6 separate regions of the Homo sapiens genome follow, and regions 2, 3, 4, 5 and 6 are each linked to region 1. The links are contacts of gene promoters, found by promoter capture Hi-C in human tissues and cell types (Jung and others, 2019). All regions are on one chromosome and are shown on one strand. Each heading gives the region's core, a stretch centred on a gene start or on the middle of the fragment in contact. The rest is flanking DNA. Distances are from core to core; before and after follow the strand shown.

What was found. The method cuts DNA at HindIII sites, captures the fragments that hold promoters and counts their contacts. A contact is called where the count stands out against the background at its distance.
Region 2: a contact is called between a fragment that was not itself captured here and the fragment with the promoter of FXYD2 in region 1, in 1 of the 25 tissues and cell types used here (mesenchymal stem cells).
Region 3: a contact is called between a fragment that was not itself captured here and the fragment with the promoter of FXYD2 in region 1, in 1 of the 25 tissues and cell types used here (hippocampus).
Region 4: a contact is called between a fragment that was not itself captured here and the fragment with the promoter of FXYD2 in region 1, in 5 of the 25 tissues and cell types used here (dorsolateral prefrontal cortex, heart left ventricle, lymphoblastoid cells and 2 more).
Region 5: a contact is called between a fragment that was not itself captured here and the fragment with the promoter of FXYD2 in region 1, in 1 of the 25 tissues and cell types used here (dorsolateral prefrontal cortex).
Region 6: the fragment with the promoter of SCN2B here is called in contact with the fragment with the promoter of FXYD2 in region 1 in 1 of the 25 tissues and cell types used here (mesendoderm cells).

What each region holds. Positions count from the first base shown.
Region 1 is chr11:117,823,397-117,826,081 of GRCh38, forward strand. FXYD2 (FXYD domain containing ion transport regulator 2) reads right to left here and starts at 1,348. Exons shown (of 6, transcript NM_001680.5): 1 at 1,258-1,348. The coding sequence starts at 1,282. The region is part of intron 6 of FXYD6-FXYD2 (FXYD6-FXYD2 readthrough); the gene reads right to left. RefSeq lists enhancers at 1,088-1,641, 1,642-2,194. The HindIII fragment of the contact is 16,763 bases long and covers 1-2,685 here.
Region 2 is chr11:118,277,626-118,280,310 of GRCh38, forward strand. No RefSeq gene overlaps it. Among named protein-coding and RNA genes, the nearest start is that of MPZL2, 15 kb to the left of the region's middle. RefSeq lists an enhancer at 1-103. The HindIII fragment of the contact is 5,787 bases long and covers 1-2,685 here.
Region 3 is chr11:117,391,445-117,394,129 of GRCh38, forward strand. CEP164 (centrosomal protein 164) reads left to right here. Exons shown (of 33, transcript NM_014956.5): 18 at 782-859; 19 at 1,052-1,183; 20 at 1,560-1,682. Among named protein-coding and RNA genes, the nearest start is that of CEP164, 65 kb to the left of the region's middle. The HindIII fragment of the contact is 6,096 bases long and covers 1-2,685 here.
Region 4 is chr11:117,442,811-117,445,495 of GRCh38, forward strand. It overlaps DSCAML1 (DS cell adhesion molecule like 1), which reads right to left. Exons shown (of 33, transcript NM_020693.4): 21 at 1,076-1,229. Among named protein-coding and RNA genes, the nearest start is that of CEP164, 120 kb to the left of the region's middle. RefSeq lists an enhancer at 1-726. The HindIII fragment of the contact is 4,661 bases long and covers 1-2,685 here.
Region 5 is chr11:117,466,087-117,468,771 of GRCh38, forward strand. The region is part of intron 16 of DSCAML1 (DS cell adhesion molecule like 1); the gene reads right to left. Among named protein-coding and RNA genes, the nearest start is that of CEP164, 140 kb to the left of the region's middle. The HindIII fragment of the contact is 8,518 bases long and covers 1-2,685 here.
Region 6 is chr11:118,175,287-118,177,971 of GRCh38, forward strand. It overlaps SCN2B (sodium voltage-gated channel beta subunit 2), which reads right to left and starts at 1,353. Exons shown (of 4, transcript NM_004588.5): 1 at 1,076-1,353. The coding sequence starts at 1,145. The HindIII fragment of the contact is 9,424 bases long and covers 981-2,685 here.

The sequences.
Region 1 (2,685 bases), core at 98-2,597:
AAATTCCCCCACAGTTATACAGCAAGTCAGGGGTAGAGCTGGTGTTTGAACCCAGGAAGCAGGGGGCTGAGAATGGAGGTGCATAAGCCCTTTGATCTGCCACCTCTCAATGGCGGGAGGGAAGGAGCCCGTTAGAGGTAAGGTCCTGCCCCTGCCTCTGGTGGCCTCCCCCGGATTTGGAGCCGCTCAGCAGGCAGGTCTCACAGTGGTGCCCTGCAACTGAGTACACTTGCCCCGGACAGCCAGACGGTGGCCTGGCCAGGACGCTTCTGCCACAGCTAAGGGCCGCTACTCTTTCCTGCCCTGCCGGAGCCCCTTCTCGCACGAGGGAAGTGGAGCCCGAGGAGGAAGGAACGCGCAAGTTAGCACTTTCCGGGCTGTGCCAAACTGTGCCCCTGAGCAGCAGTGAGACTTAGGGTCTGTCAAGCCCAGCTGTCCCCAGCGGCCAGTCCCTGGGCCAGGAAAGGACAGGCCAGGAAGAGTCAGTGCCCATCCTGACGGGCCTGAGGTGCTGGGTGCTCAGGGAGGCCATGAAGGACCCAGGTCCCACACAGAAGGCCGTCAGGGCTGTCTTCCCAGATTTGGTTCAGGCCTTGTTTAAGGTCATATGGGGATTTAAGTGTCAGAGCAACAGCTAGACGCCAGCTGAGGCTTCCCCACACGCCCCAGGAAACCTCCTCCTCCGTGGCCACCTGGCCCTGAGCCGCTTGCTGAGACCCTCCCTGCCCAGCACCCTCCCCTTTCTGCATCTGGCTCAAAACCCACCTCTGTCAGCAAGTGCCCCTCTTGGTTTCCAGGCCTGAGTCAGTTCCTGTGACAGGAAGCCTTTGGAGAGTGTGACTTGAACTTGGCGGGCTCTCACCCCAAATCCAGCCTAGGAAGGCTGACCAGAGGGGCCTGCTCCTTCCCCAGCCAGATGGACGCCGTCTGCCTCCCGCCCAAGTTCAGACGGTCTAGCAAGATGCATTGAACTCAGGGCGGGTGTGTGCCAGGAGGCCGAGGAGGAACGCTCAGCTCTCCAGCTTCTATCTGCTGCCTTTCTGCCACTCAAGCTATCTTTCTTTGGGGTTAAAGCAGGGTCCTCCTTTAAGTTGCAAATTTTCTTAGAGAGGAGGCCGACAGGAAGAGGGGCTGGGTACTCTGGAAGGCTGAGGTGGCAGGAGAGGGAAGAGTAGGGTCCAGCTGACCCCACAAAGGCAGGCCAATCAGAGCCACCCAGCATTGCACACGCCCGGGCACGCACACCAGCACACTCACCACCGTCCATCGACAACCCAGTCATTTCCCCAGGTGAATGGGCTGCCTCCACTCCCCTCTTCCTGCTGTCTCTGCTTTTTGGAGAGTGTCTGGCTGCCTCCACGGGGTGGCCGGGGACGAGGTGCGGGCATTAAACATTAACAGTGCCAGGTAATATTTACCCTGGTCACAAGAAAAGCTGCAGTGTGGATGGAGGGGCTCCTTCTGCAGGGTGAGGACGTGCGTGGGGAGGCAGGGGCAGGGAGGAGCTGGCTGAGTTTCCAAACCTTCCCAAAGGAAATTTCCAAAGAGAAGGGTTGGGATGGGTCAGCAGTCGTGCTGTTCTGCCAGCTGGGGAAGCTACAGCTGGGGCGGTGGGAACAGGAAAGTGGAAGTTGCACAATCTCTTCAGTGTACACTGTACTTGGGAGTTTCTGGGGGCAGTGGCCCACAGTGGCCCCCAGCCCAGGCAGGGCCCACCGCACCAGCCACCATGGATGCCGCCGCTGCAGCTGGTGTTCCTTATGTGGTACTGGAGGCTTTCCTGCAGTGGTCCCTAGGAGCCTGGCCCACTGCTCCCCCACCACATCCCTGGAGCACCGCCAAAGCTGACCAGCAGTAGATCCTCCAGAAGGGCCCTTCATCTGTCATCCTATTCACCCATCAACGTGCACCCTGCAGGTTACACCTCATTCAGAAGGGCTTCAGTCATCCCCAACTAATTTCTCCTTCCCTGCCGCCCTGGCACTTCCTCCTACCACCATTTGGCCTGGCTCTCGGATTGTGTCCTTGCCAGTTTACCATGGAGCATGCAGGATCCTTAAGGACAGGGCAAGACTTTCATCGTGGGGAAAACCCCCTGCGTTTATGGTTTACCAAGCACTTTCCTCACTGTTTTTTCTCCTCAAGCTTTATGTTTCCCATTTTACTGATGAGGCAGGTGTCTAAGGCACAGAGAGGTAGGGGCCTTGCCCAGGGTCACACAGCCAGTGTGGGGGAAGTGGAGACTGACAATCAGGCCTCCTGCTGCAGGAGGCAGATGCTTTCCACACCTCGCAGGCAGCCTCCCCACTCCGCTGTGACCTCCTTCGCCCCAGGACTCCTGTGCCGGGTAGTCACAGGTACTGTAGAATCCTCGTTGAGTTCTAGTCCATTGAATTGGCCTCCAGAAAAGGCTGAAGCCCAATGGCCACAAAACAGCCAAGGTCAGTGGCCAGCGGACAGCAGGGGAGCTTGAGCCCTTCTGAAGGGAGCCACTGTATCCATGAATCCTCCCCAAGCAGGGGCAGGGCTTGGCACTTGAGTTCACACCCTGGCCCTCTCACTTGCTAATGGTGTGGTCTCAGTCAATGACTTCACCTCTCTGTGCCTCAGTCTCCTCATCTGTAAAATGGGCGCAGTACCCAGCTCCTAGGGTGGTGGTGAGGGGAAGTGAGATAATGCATGCAA
Region 2 (2,685 bases), core at 62-2,561, 450 kb after region 1:
AGCAACATCGCTCTTTTCTTGCAGTTTGTTCCAATGTTATATGCTGTCTTGAGTGTCAATATCTGCTGAGCTACATTAGCAATAACCAAGAGGAAAAGAAGCTTTTAAAGCCAAAGAAAAATTGTCATTTAAAGTTGTCACCTTGGGGACAAGCTTTTATTCTAATGATGCTGACGTTATTCCAGATATTTCTAGAACATTTTTAGAATTGCCTTAGGAGTTTGAATCATAACATTTTTCGATTTAAAAAAAAAAAACCAGGGTCTCGCTCTGTTGCGCAGGCTGTAGTGCAGTGATGCAATCTCGGCTCACTGCAACCTCTGCCTCCTGGGCTCAAGCAATTCTCCCACCTCAGCCTCCCTAGTAGCTGGGACTACAGGCACGTGCCACCATGCCCGGCTAAGTTTGTATTTTATTTGTATTTTTAGTAGAGACAGGGTTTCACCATGTTGGCCAGGCTAGTCTCAAACTCTTGACCTCAAGTGATCCACTCACCACAGCCTCCCAAAGTGTTGGAATTACAGACATGAGCCACTGCATCCAGCCTTGAGATTTTTACTGATGGCAAATCCTCATGCTTTTGAGAATGGGCTTGATTTTTGGACACATTTAAAAGTCATGTAGATCAAATCCAAAGAAAGTAAGAAAGTGAATGACCAAACCAGGCACTGATTATAAAATCATAAGTATGATGACTTGTGAAATGCATAAATGGTCCCTGAGGATCCTTTAAAAGACAGGATTCTCTTTAAAAGCTCTTTAGGCCAGGATCGGTGGCTCATACCTGTAATCCCAGCACTTTGAGAGGCTGAGGTGGGCGGATCATTAGATCAAGAGATCGAGGCCATCCTGGCCAACATGGTGAAACCCCGTCTCTACTAAAAATACTAAAATTAGCTGGGCATGGTGGTGTGTGCCTGTAGTCCCAGCTACTCAGGAGGCTGAGACAGGAGAATTGCTTGAACCCAGGAGATGGAGGTTGCAGTGAGACGAGATCACGCCACTGCACTCCAGCCTGGGCAACAGAGCAAGACTCTGTCTCAAAAAAAAAAAAACCTCTTTAAAAACTGTTTTGTGCATAACTATAATAAAGGTATAATTTTCCATTTACTTTAAGGTCTCTTATCTTATTAAGCTGGATGTATACCTTAACTGGCTCTTCTTAATTCACAGATTAAGGCCTTTCATGATCTGCCTCTGTCAACTAACCAGCCCCTCTTTCCCCACTTTCCAGGCTCCTTAAGCCTTATTCATCACTATGCCAAACTAATCACATACTTGTTCTTACCTCCACATATATATTTGTGCATATGTTCTGTCTACTTTATCCAGCTGATCAACTCTTATTTGCCTTTCAAAATTAAGTTCACATTCCATGAAGCCTTCCCTGTCCCCTGGACCTGGAGTTAATAGTTCCCTTAGCACCTTGGGACACCTTTTTTATAGCCTTTGCTGCACTGTATGGTCATTACTTGTTTACACGTCTGCCTCTACTGTAGACTGAATCCCTCCAGGGCAGGGTTCATGTCTCTGTATCCCCAACACCTAACTGTTAGGCACATAGTAGATGCTCAATACGCATTTGCTGGATGAGTGAATGCATTCTTACTGAAGCATCTGTGTGCCCCACACCTCAGTGATGCTAAGCAGTATGGAGCTCCCACTGTTGGAACCTAAAGAAGTTTACTAAGGAAGTGAAGTGACAACCTAAAACTCAGTCCCAGCTTTAACTTGGCTTATCTTTGCATCTAAGTGAAGATCATCTCTAAGACTGGGATATCTACACTGAACAAGGGCTTCCCACCTTCCTCTGTTTTCAGCCTAGGTGCAACCATGAAAGGAAAGGAGCAAATGTAATCTGTATCATAATATATTCTATTTGAACATGATTAAATTAAAACTAATTGATAATGTCGATTAAATAATAAACACTAATTAAATACTAATTGTCAGAATGTGTCTCCTACTTTTATTCACTCTTTATAAGTTTTAATTACTAAGTTAATGATCAAGAATGGTACTATGTTGGGCTGAAACCTAGGATTTGGAATATACCCATTCATTCATCTACCAAATAATGTTTAAATTGAATTTAAAAACTAAGGCTGAATAATTATAGAGCACCTGTTATATGTCTAACACTGTGCTGAAAAAAAATATATGAAGATGCCATATTTAGCTTCATGGAATTCACAACCCAGATACTAGAACCTTCCATCTGCAAAGCTCTTTGCAAAGCATTTGAATACATTGTATCATTTAATTCTCACTATTCTATTCTACCCAATTTTCCTCATCTACTTTAGATAAGGAAAATGAGGATGACAGAGATGAAACAGTTTACCCAGTTACTCAGCTCACTCTGGCTAGAAAATAAATGGAAAAATTAGGGCTGAATCTGGGAGTTCTGTCTCTAAATCCAAAGCTTTTCTCATGGGCTCACACAAAGTCAATAATTTTTTTTTTTTTTTTTTTGCTTTTTACTATGGAACATTTCAAACATATACAAATGTAGATAAAATAATATAACAAACCCCATGTCCTATCACCCAGCCCTTATTATCAGCAACCCATGGTCATTTATGTCTTTATCTACCCACCCAATATTATTTTGAAGCAAATTGAAGATACCATATCATTTTGCCCATAAATATAACTTCTGTTAAAAGATAAACTTTGGCACAC
Region 3 (2,685 bases), core at 118-2,617, 430 kb before region 1:
GCATCACAAGGCTCCTCCAGGGTCAGGCTGGATGGCAGTGGCGGCTGGAGGTTGTCAAGCAGAGAACCCTCAGAGGCTTGAGGGAGAGCGTCCTGTGGATTTGAGAAAGTTCGTGACTGAAAGAGATTTAGCCAGACCAGAGGTTTTGAGACAAAGGCGCTCTGTCCCTCACTGTCTCTGAGGGACAGCTGCAAGGGCCTCACTCCCCACTTTTCTCTCCTTTCTTAGGATGAGAGGCTAGCAATATAGCAAGGATTTTCTCTTTGTCCATACTCCCTCTTCTACTCCAGTCAGATGGTGGGCTTCTGAAGGTTTTAGCACAGTCTCTCTGAGCACTTGTAGTACAGTGCACTTCCCTACTCCTGCTGTAGTGTTTTCCTTGTCTAATAGCTGCAGCTTTGCACCTCACCAAAATAAAAAGAAAATTCTACATGGCCCGACTTAATGACAGCATCCAACCTGGCCCCCCTGGCTTGGATCTTATTTACCAGCATGAGCACCATCTGTGGATCTGTGGCCTAGTCTAAAGGCAGGGGGTGGGAGCAGAGAGCCGAAACTTACTGAAATGCCCCTCTCCTCTGACCTTCATGTTCCTGTTCATTTGCCAGTTGTAGACTTCAGGGGCTGAGTTATTTCAGAGGAACAAAGATGTGCTGTGCTTCCCCATGCTTCCCTTGACCCTGATCTCGAGGGCTTGGGGGTCGGTAGTCTTCCTGGCTCCGCCTCCCACCATGATCAGTACCTGGCCAGCTTCACTCACAGTCCCTTTGCTCCTCCCCAGGCTGTGGCAACGCTGGAGAAGGAGCACAGTGCTGAGCTGGAGCGGCTCTGCTCCTCATTGGAGGCCAAGCACCGGGAGGTAAGATGCAGCATCCTGGGCCCCCTTCATGGCTGATTAGCAGAATTCAGCCCCATCCCTGGCTACTAGGCAGCGAGCCTCTCTCTCCAGCCCTGGGGGATGGATGCCAGGTCCTCAGAACACATCCCCACACAGCAGCTGTACAGTCTGTCTGAGGGTCACACTCCCCTGTGTGTGCGGGGGCCTCCTCAGGTGGTCTCCAGCCTCCAGAAGAAGATACAGGAAGCTCAACAGAAAGAGGAGGCCCAGCTGCAGAAGTGCCTTGGGCAAGTGGAGCACAGAGTTCACCAGAAGTCTTATCACGTGGCTGGGTATGAGCACGAGGTGAGTGCTGCTCTGTCTTCCACAGTCGTGTGCGCCTGTTGTGGACTCTCTTACAGTCAGCTGAGCCGGCCTAGCCTCAGCGGCCTCCAGTTTGCTTTGGATGGCTCAGCTGGGGTTAGCATTTCTAGTTCCCTTTTTATGCCTTAGTTCCCTTGAAGCCAGGTACTCCTCCAATCTGATGCCCCTGTATGCATGTGGGGAGGGGGTGTTGGGGTATGGCTGTGTGCTGACCATGGTGTCATGGCTGTGTGATGTGCATGTGTTGTGTGTGTTGGGGGAGATTGGGGAAATGTGTGTAAGACCTTCAGGTGCAGCAGGCCCTGAGTGCTGGTCCGCCTCGGTTCTTCATGCCACATCCCTGCCATCTCCCCTGCAGCTCAGCAGTCTCCTGCGAGAGAAGCGCCAGGAAGTGGAAGGGGAGCATGAGAGGAGGTTGGACAAGATGAAGGAGGAGCACCAGCAAGTGATGGCTAAGGCCAGAGAGCAGTATGAAGCTGAGGTAGCTCAGCCACATCCCCTGCGCGCATGCACACACATGCACACACACATGCACGCACATGCACACACACATGCACACACACATGCACGCACATGCACACACACCCCGGGGTCCTTCCCACCTGGCTGTGGGGCAGAGGAAGGGGATAAACTGTGGTCAGGGATTGTGGGAGGTTTTCCTTCCTGGTACCCTGCCACGATGATGTTTTTTGCCTTTTTTATTAAAACATGAGAAAAACCTCCACCTAATGGGGGGCAATTCCTCTTTTATCAGGCAGGCTGTACTTTCTTCTGATAGTAAAAAGAACCCCCATACATTGAGCTTGTACTGTGTGCCAAGAACTGTTCTGAGCTCTTTATCTATTTTAACTCATTTAGTCCTCACACCAGCCTTAGGAAGGATCTACTATCATTGTCTCCATTTTAAAGATGAGGGCACTGAGACTTGGAGAGTTTAAGTAGCTTCCCAAGATCACACCCAGCCAATAAGTAGAAGAGCTAGGATTCAAGCCCAGGCCATCTGACTCCAAAGCCTTCAGTTTCCTCACTGCAATGCTGTGTCACCAGGGTTCCTCAACATCTTGGGACACCAAGAAATAGACTGGCAAGAGCCAAGTAATACTGATATTCTCCCCATTTTAAGCCTTTGGTCTTAAGGTAGGAAAGTTCAGCGACTTGAGTTTACCCAAGCTGGCCTGCCTTGCTCACATTGAGGGTGAACAATGGGTGGGTAGAGGGTGGCTGACTATAGCCCACAGCTGGGACCCTGCAGGGTGTTAAGACTACTGCTCCAGTAACTGGAACCAGTATCCCAGACTCTTTCTAGGATCTTTCCCAGGGCAGAAATAGCAGTCCCATGATGAAATTTGCCATATCCCTTCCCCCAACCAATTATGACCTTGCTGAAGAATAGTGATAATTTATCAGTGACCTCTCATTCCTTACAGAGGAAAAGTTGTATATGGTGGAGCCATAGGGAGAGCCAGAAAGGGAATCTGTCGTGG
Region 4 (2,685 bases), core at 50-2,549, 380 kb before region 1:
TGTGGAAAGAGCCCTGACTTGGCGCTGGGAGAGCTAGCTCACTCCTTCCCGGTTGTCTTTGCAGCCCATGCCACTCCTGCCTCAGGTTGCTCAGCTGTGGAATGGGTCAACAAGCCCTGCTGGCAGGGCAGGTGGAAGCCCCTGGCCCACCGTAGGCCCTCGATCAGATGCTGGCTGGCTCTGAGCCCGCGGCAGGGTAGGGCTTGGGGCTCTTGTGTTTGGGCCAAGAGAAGCTTGAGTGGCCCCGGTAGGCTGGCCAGGCTGCGCAGGCACCACCTCCTCTCGTCTGGGCTGCGGTGGATAAGAGAGTGGGGGAGTGAGGAGGGGCCCAGGGAGGCCCAACGGCAAGTAGAGGACCTGCGGTCCTGGGCTAGTTGTGGCCAGTTCCTACGCCCCAGGGAGAGGCAGACGCTCAGCCTTGCAGCTCTACCTGCGCGGCTGCTACAGCTTGCCCTTGGGATGAGGCCTTGGAAGTGTCATTCCTCTGAAAAGTGGGGGTGCAGCCCCCATGGCACACCCATGTCCCGGTCAGAGATTCAGTGGGGCACTCCCTAAGAGGGTCTGATTCTAGCCCAGAGCCTTCCTTCACAGCACGCGCTCCGTAAAGGTCTGCGGATCGCAGGAATCCGCCATCGCTGGAATCACCCCTGCCCGGTGTCCAGTTCAGCACGGGGGCTCTCCTTTGAGCCTCAGCTGCTCTGTGGAAGCAGCACACCCGGCTGTAGCCACCTCTGGAGGAGCTGAGCATTGGGACAAAGGCCCGGCTTTGAATTGGGGGTAGAGGCGACTCCCCCTTTTTCAAGCTGGGAGTAGGGTTTGGACTCGGGAACTGAGTGCACCCTGTCCACCCGCCCCAGGCAAGAGCCGGAGGCAGCCTGTTGTGAGGCTTTGCTGGAGTCAGGGGGCAGCAGAGGCCCAGTCTTGGTGTGTGCGGGAGGCAGGCGGGTGGCCAGTTCCTCACAGCTGGGTGGCAGATAAAGCGGAGCAGGCAGAGACCCTGTCTGGGGAGAACCAGGATTCTGTAAGGGAGCTTTTGGAAGTGTTTGCCCCTCTGCCACAGCCTCAGGCTTCTCACCCTTGCCAGCAGGCTCGATGGTCACCTTCTCGCTGCTGTTGCCCCGGCCGGCAGAGGTGACGGCGGCCACCCACAGCAGATACTGCTGACCGCGGTTTAGGTGGGCGATCCGGTAGAAGAGCTGCTCTGGACTCGTCTCGTACTCGCTGGGAGCCTGCGGGGCAGAGGCAAAGAGGCTCTAAGAAGCAGAACTGGGGCCCTCCAGCGTCCAAATCTTCCTCAGTGCCCGGGGCTCAGAGGAGAGGATGGCGGGGTCGGATGCGAGGCAGGATTCTGTCCTATTTGCCCTTTCCAAGTTTTAGAGATGCAGCGGACAGAGTGTGCCCTGGGTTTGGTCCCTGGGAGCTGATGGGCCTGCCTCGCGGTGTTGCTGGGTCAGCCTCAGTTTACCTCTTTAACTGATCCACGCTCTGGCAGCTGTGGCTCAGGCCAGGGGATGTGAGTACTTTAGGTGAGGGACGGGGTAGCCAGGAGAAGGGAGAATGGGGGACAGGGGGTCCCAGGAAAGCCCTGAGGAAAGAGTCTTCAGGAAGAAGGCAAATGACTGCCTCTGCCTGATGAGGGTTGGAGACAGGCTCCTGCAGCCTGCTCTGGCTCCCGTCACCTCCTAGCCCTGCCGTCTAATTACCACTCCTGCATTTTGCAGGCAGCACGCCCGCCCGTCCAGGGAGGAGGGGGCGGGAGAAGGAACTATGAAAGCTTTACTGGGTAGCACTTTATTAATGATTATTAGTGGTATAGATCACCATATATATTTGTAGGTTATACAAATCTATAAAATTTTTTTTAACAAAATGACAGTTTTGACAAGTTGCCAACAAAACAATATCGGATCCCAGTGGTTTTACCAGTTGCTTTGATGAAAAGATTATGTTGCCTTGGAAACCAGAGGCTCAGATATTGAAATGAATTTGAGAAGGAGCTTTTGATAAGCGCTAGTTTGCAGACCTCCTGTCAGCCTCTTCCCTGGCACGGGCGGGATGGGGCTGACTTTCATTTTATTTTATTTTTTGGTCAGCCGCAGGGAAGGGAGAGGAGGACAGCACCAGGGCCCCTTTGAAAACAGAGCGGAAGTCCAGGGAGGGAGAGCAGCCCCAGAACAGATGGGGGCCCGAGGCCAGAGGGAGCTAATAATTAGTTATCTCTGCAGTCACAGGATCTTGCACACACACGCTCACAAGCACACACACATGTAGACGCATGCACACATGCTGAGGAACAGACCTCCAGGCATGTATGGGCACAGAGGGACATTCTTCATGCCCCATAGTGGGGCTGAGAGGCCCAATAACTTATAACAGGAGGAGACATCCTTTTTGGCCCCAGGCCATCTGCAGGGAAATGTTAGGGGAAAAGGCACAGGCATCTCTGCAACACACACACACAGCTCCCTGGCATATTCCTCCTGCCTCCCTCGTGGGGGTCTGGCCTTGAATCCAGGAGGTCCGGGGGGGCAGGTGCAGAGCCACCCTTGAGCCCTGGTGGTTGGGAAGCCCTTTCAGGCCACAGCACCCTGGGACTGGTGTGCGTATCTGTCGTTGATATGTGCTTGAAGTGTGGGGTAGTGTAGTGGCTTCAACACCCTCCTGCCCTTCCTCCTGGGCATACAG
Region 5 (2,685 bases), core at 128-2,627, 360 kb before region 1:
TCCTAGGGTTTATGCCCAAAATAATTGAAAACAGGGATTCAGAGAGATACTTGTACACTCATGTTCAAAGCAGCATTATTCAGAATAGCCAGAAGGTGGAAGCAACTCAAGTGTTCACCAGGAGATGAGTGGAGAAGCAGAATACGATAGTGCAATACAATGGGATAGTATGCAGCCATGAAAGGGAGAAAACACTGACATCCGTCACAGCGCGGATGAACCTTGAAGACACTGCACTAAGAGAAATAGGCCAGACAAAAAAGGACAAAAGCTATTTGTCCGATTCCACTTAGGTGGTACTTAGAATAGTCAAAATCAGAAGAAAATAGAAAGGCCAGGTGCGGTGGCTCATGCCTGTAATCTCAGCACTTTGGGAGGCTGAGGTGGGTGGATCAGTTGAGTCAGGAGTTCGAGACCAGTCTGGCCAACATGGTGAAACCCCATCTCTACTAAAAATACAAAAAATTAGCTGGGTGTGGTAGCACACACCTGTAGTTCCACCTACTCAGGAGGCTGAGGCAGGAGAATCGCTTGAACCCGGGAGGCGGAGGTTGGAGTGAGCCAAGATCGACAGAGTGAGACTCTGTCTCAACAAAAGGAGGGTGGAATAGAGCTTTCACGGGGAGCTCATGGTTCATGGGTACAGAATTTCAGTTTGAGAGGATGAAAAAGCTCTGGAAGTGCTAGTGGTGATGGTTGTACAACATTGTGAATGTGCTTACTGCTATTGAGCTGCACGCTTAAACATGGTTCAAATGGTAGATTTTAAGTTATATGTATTTTGTTAAAACTAGAGAAAAAAAGATCCCTGACTTTCACCTGGGTGCAGCCCCTCTGGGAACTCTAAGGCTGCAGTGCCCCAGACGCCAAGGCCAGGGATTGGGGAATGGTGAAGGCTGAGGCCCGAATGAGCCCTGGATGGAGGCACAGAGATGGCAAGGACTTGGAGGTTAGAAGGGGGCTGGTGGGAATGAAGACTGAGCCCAGTCAGCCAGGCGAATGGAGAAACTCCACTGGCATCGGTCTGGGGCTGGAAAACTCTCATCCCAGGCTCGAACCCTGATAGACACCCAGCCAGGTGCGCGCACGCATGCGCGTGCACACACACCTCCCCCCTCCCCCCGCCGCCAATATATCCATTCACACCCAGAACCAGGAACACGTATCCAGACCCATCAAAGCAAACATCTTAATCCACACCCCTACTCCCAACCAGATACATTTAGATCCGCAAATAGAAACTGGCTCCTTTAATGCCCGGGCCTGCCCATCTATAAATTGAGACAGAACACCCACCCCAGCGCATTTAAAAACAGCTTGAATCGGGGTTTTAAAGACAATGAAGTTAATTTAAAAGCCCACCTTTTATTGTACTAAAAAATAGTGAGATAAAAACAATTAAGTTAGTAAAACAGCACTACTGTTTTTTTTTCTAGTCAATGAATGTTTTAAATGAACTGCATTTTTAAGCTCACTGTTAATAAAATGAAGTTTTTAATTTAACATAATTGTTTTGGACTCACTAAATAGGTGTGTGTCTGTGTGTGTGTGTTTAATTGACTTTACTCTTTGTTGCTGCTTGAATGTTTCTCTCTGCACTTGGGCAGTTCTGCTTGCTGCTCTGTAAGTGGACACATTTTTACATTTGGGTCTTGTATCTACACATGTATGTCTATGCACACACACATACACACAGACATCATTATAGATACAAATGTATCTTCAAGAGCCTGAGACCTTCCTCTTCACATCGACCCCCATTCTCACGCTTCATGTACGTGTATCTATACTGACACACATTGAACATCATTATACTATGCCACAGATTGCCTACATGCCCAGAGCTATGTATACCATGATATATACCTGCACACGTGACCACATCCACATATACTGACAGGTCTCAGACAGGCATGCAGGCACACCCCAATCTATCCATCCAGATAGATTCACATATTTATACAAATCTTCACAGATCCTTCCTGCCTCCTTCCTCTCTCTTTTTTTCTCTCCTTCTCTGTCCCCCGCCTCTCCAAACAGCCACAGTCAGGATTTAAATCAATCTTAACAATATTTCTCTGAAGCATTAAGAAATCAATAGGGCTGATTGCAAATTTATGTCATAAAGCAGGGGCGATCCATCTCGTGGAAAGGGTCTTAAAATGAAGTGACTTATCTTCAAGTGAATCTTTATTTTTCATTAATCTGTTTCTCAATGTTAAAAAAAAAAATCCCCTGAGAAGTCAGCCCAAAATTTATTGACCACCTGGTTCATTCTGAAGTTCTAACTTTCTAATCAATTTTATTTTTCATTATGAGACTTTGGAGAAATAAATCTGATTCTAAATTTTTATCGACCTGTGGGTCAGAGCTTTGTAGCCCAATGTTTCAGTACTTTACATATTTATTCATCCCTGCCCCCACCTCCTGGCTGCCTTGGAGTGTTTCTAGGATACAGGTCCACAGCCAGGACGCAGCCAAGAGTTTGGGATTGGATGCCCGGCCTCACCCCACTTTCTGAGGAGAGCCCTGGAACCCAGATCTGAATCTGGAGAGGAACCCTGGCTCCAGGTATCCACTAGGTGGGCTGCCCCCAGGAAGGACCAGCTGCCCAGCCCTACCTCGCTTTCCTCTTGGTCATGCCTCTGGGAGGGAAGGAACCAGGCTGCTGCTATGTGTGTGAGT
Region 6 (2,685 bases), core at 103-2,602, 350 kb after region 1:
AAGGTGGCTTGAAACCCAGGTCCTGCCAGAGATTCCATAGCATTCCTGCTCTGATGTTAATATGCCAAGTAACTCAGCAAAGCAGGCTGGCAGGGCCTCTGCACTGTCTGTGTTTAGCACTCCTACTCCAAACCCAGCACATCACACCACAGAAAGAGAGAGAGCCTTTGTGGTGGGGAATAGTTCCATCAACAGTCCTTGGACTTGACTCTCAGTTGCTGCTCCAGCAATAAGTAAGTTTAGGAGCAAGAATGAAACTCTACAAAGCAGGCTTGCAAATAACTTTCTAGCCCACTTCCCCACCAGGAAGTCTCTGAGTGGTCAAATACAAACACTTGACAGGACAGTCTGCAAGACTGGGCTGGGCAGTTCTGAGGCTGGATTTAAAGGGCTGCAACCTCGCTCAGCCTGTGGGTTCCATTTTTTTCCTGAATCTCTACACCTGGCCCTTCCTCCATTCCATCCGGCCCAAGCCAAAGGTGCCTTCTCCATCAGTGCGTGCCTCAGCAGGTCTCCTCCCAACCCAGACATCATTCCCCAAGCCCGCTTCCCACCTACTCCCACACACGTTCCAACAGATCAGTGAGACCGAGTGCCAAGAAGCCAGACCCAGACTCAACTTTCTGCCACCAGCTCCCCTGCACACTCTCCTAATACCCTAAATCCACCAGGATCAAGCTTCTGAAAAGAAGCCCCTTAAGGGAGCATTAAGTCCCAGGACCCCGCATTTGCAGCAACTCCAAAAAATAATCCCTGAAGAGACTGCAGGTCAATCCACTCTCTGCCCCACCGCCACGTAGGTCCACTTAGGGGAAATCCAGAGAAGATTCACCTCCCTTGACAATTGTCAGCCCCCAGCAACACTCAGATCCCCTGACCCAACATTTCTGTGACTAAGTAGTCCCAGGGTTCTGCACTCCCCAGCAACGTCCCTTCCAGTCCCCAGCACCTCCCCTCCCAAGGACACAGAGGGAAAGCGCTAGCAATGTCTTCTTTCCTATCCCCTGCCCCCATCCTCTTCACATTGCGGCTACACTTCTGAACCCTCGGGAGCATGCAGATGTGTCTAACTTACCCAAAGAGAAAAAGAGACTGAGCCCCGTGAGGCTGAAGGCAGGGCGAGGTAGCCAGGCATCTCTGTGCATTTTCAGAGACTGAGATGTTAGTCGGGTGGGCTACGGGAGAGGGTGATTTGAGGGGGCGAGAACTACAAGGGAGGAATGGTTGGATGCTAAAAAAAAATGCACGGATGTACTTCAAAGACATATACAACATTAAGGAAGCTTTATTTCCATCTCTCTAATATGGCCGGCTTGTATGTTGCTGCTAAAAAGAGAGAGAGAGGGAGTGTGTAAAGGAGAGAGAGAGAGATGGGGGGGAGAGAAAAGGGGGATGGGGTAAATATTGTGGTTGGTGGATTTCAAAAAGCAGGTGGGAGGGCATAAAAAAGTCATTTTGAAAAGAACAAAATCCCAGAAATTTTTACCCTCTAAAACAAGAAATAATACAAACCCTGCTTTTTGACTTCACTGGGATGATTGTTGGATTTTGAAAGCTATTAGAGGAATCCATTTATTTTAAAGATTCTGGAAAGGGAAACACCTTTTATCATTTAAAAACACCCCCAGGCTGACGCAGTGGCTCACACCTGTAATTCCAGCACTTTGGGAGGCCGGATGGATTGCTTGAGTCCAGGAGTTCAAGACCAGCCTGGGCAACATGGCAAAACCCATCTCTACTAAAAATACAAAATTTAGCCAGGCATAATGTCGCATGCCTCTTGTCCCAGCTACTGCACCGCACTCCAGCCTGGGCCCTGCCTCCAGAGGGAAAAAAAAAAAAAAAACCTAAAAAAAAAAAGGAGATGCTTGTTTTTGTGTTATTGAAAAGGGTTCAGGAAAGTGAGTTGGAGAGACTTTCAAGGGGTAATGCTTTCCTCATTCTAGCGTTTCCTCTGAAAACAGAACATGTTGAAGCAGGCTGATAGAAAAATACCCAAGAGATCTTACAATTGAATGTAACACAGGCCTTTGGATAAACCTGATTCAAACAAATCAACAGGAAAGAAAAGTTTTTGAGACAATTGGGAAAAGTTAAATATGAACTACATAGTAGATTGTATTAATGAATCATTCTTAATTTTGTTGGGTCTGATAAAATGTGGTTTTGTCCTTTAACATCTCTATCTGTTAAAGACACACATGGGTGGCCGGGCGGGGTGGCTCACACCTGTAATCCCAGCACTTTGGGAGGCCGAGGCAGGCAGATCACCTGAGGTCAGGAGTTCGAGACCAGCCTCCCTAACATGGTGAAACCCTGTCTCTACTAAAAATACAAAAGTTAGCCGGGTGTGGTGGCGTGTGCCTGTAATCCCAGCTACTTGGGGGGACTGAGGCAGGAGAATTGCTTGAACCTGGGAGGCGGAGGTTGCAGTGAGTCGAGATCACTCCGCTACATCCCAGCCTGGGCCACAGAGTGAGACTCCATCTCAAAAATACATATATATATATTCAACGAAAAAAAGAGATGGGAGAATAGGTGACACGAGACTAGTTGTTTTGCTTGATAATTGAAACTAGCTGGTGATGGGTGTAAAGGGTTTGTCATATAGTTCTCTCTTCTTTTGTGTATGTTTAAAACTTTTCTTTTGAAGAAGGAAGAAAAAATAAGCTAACGTCATAAGTA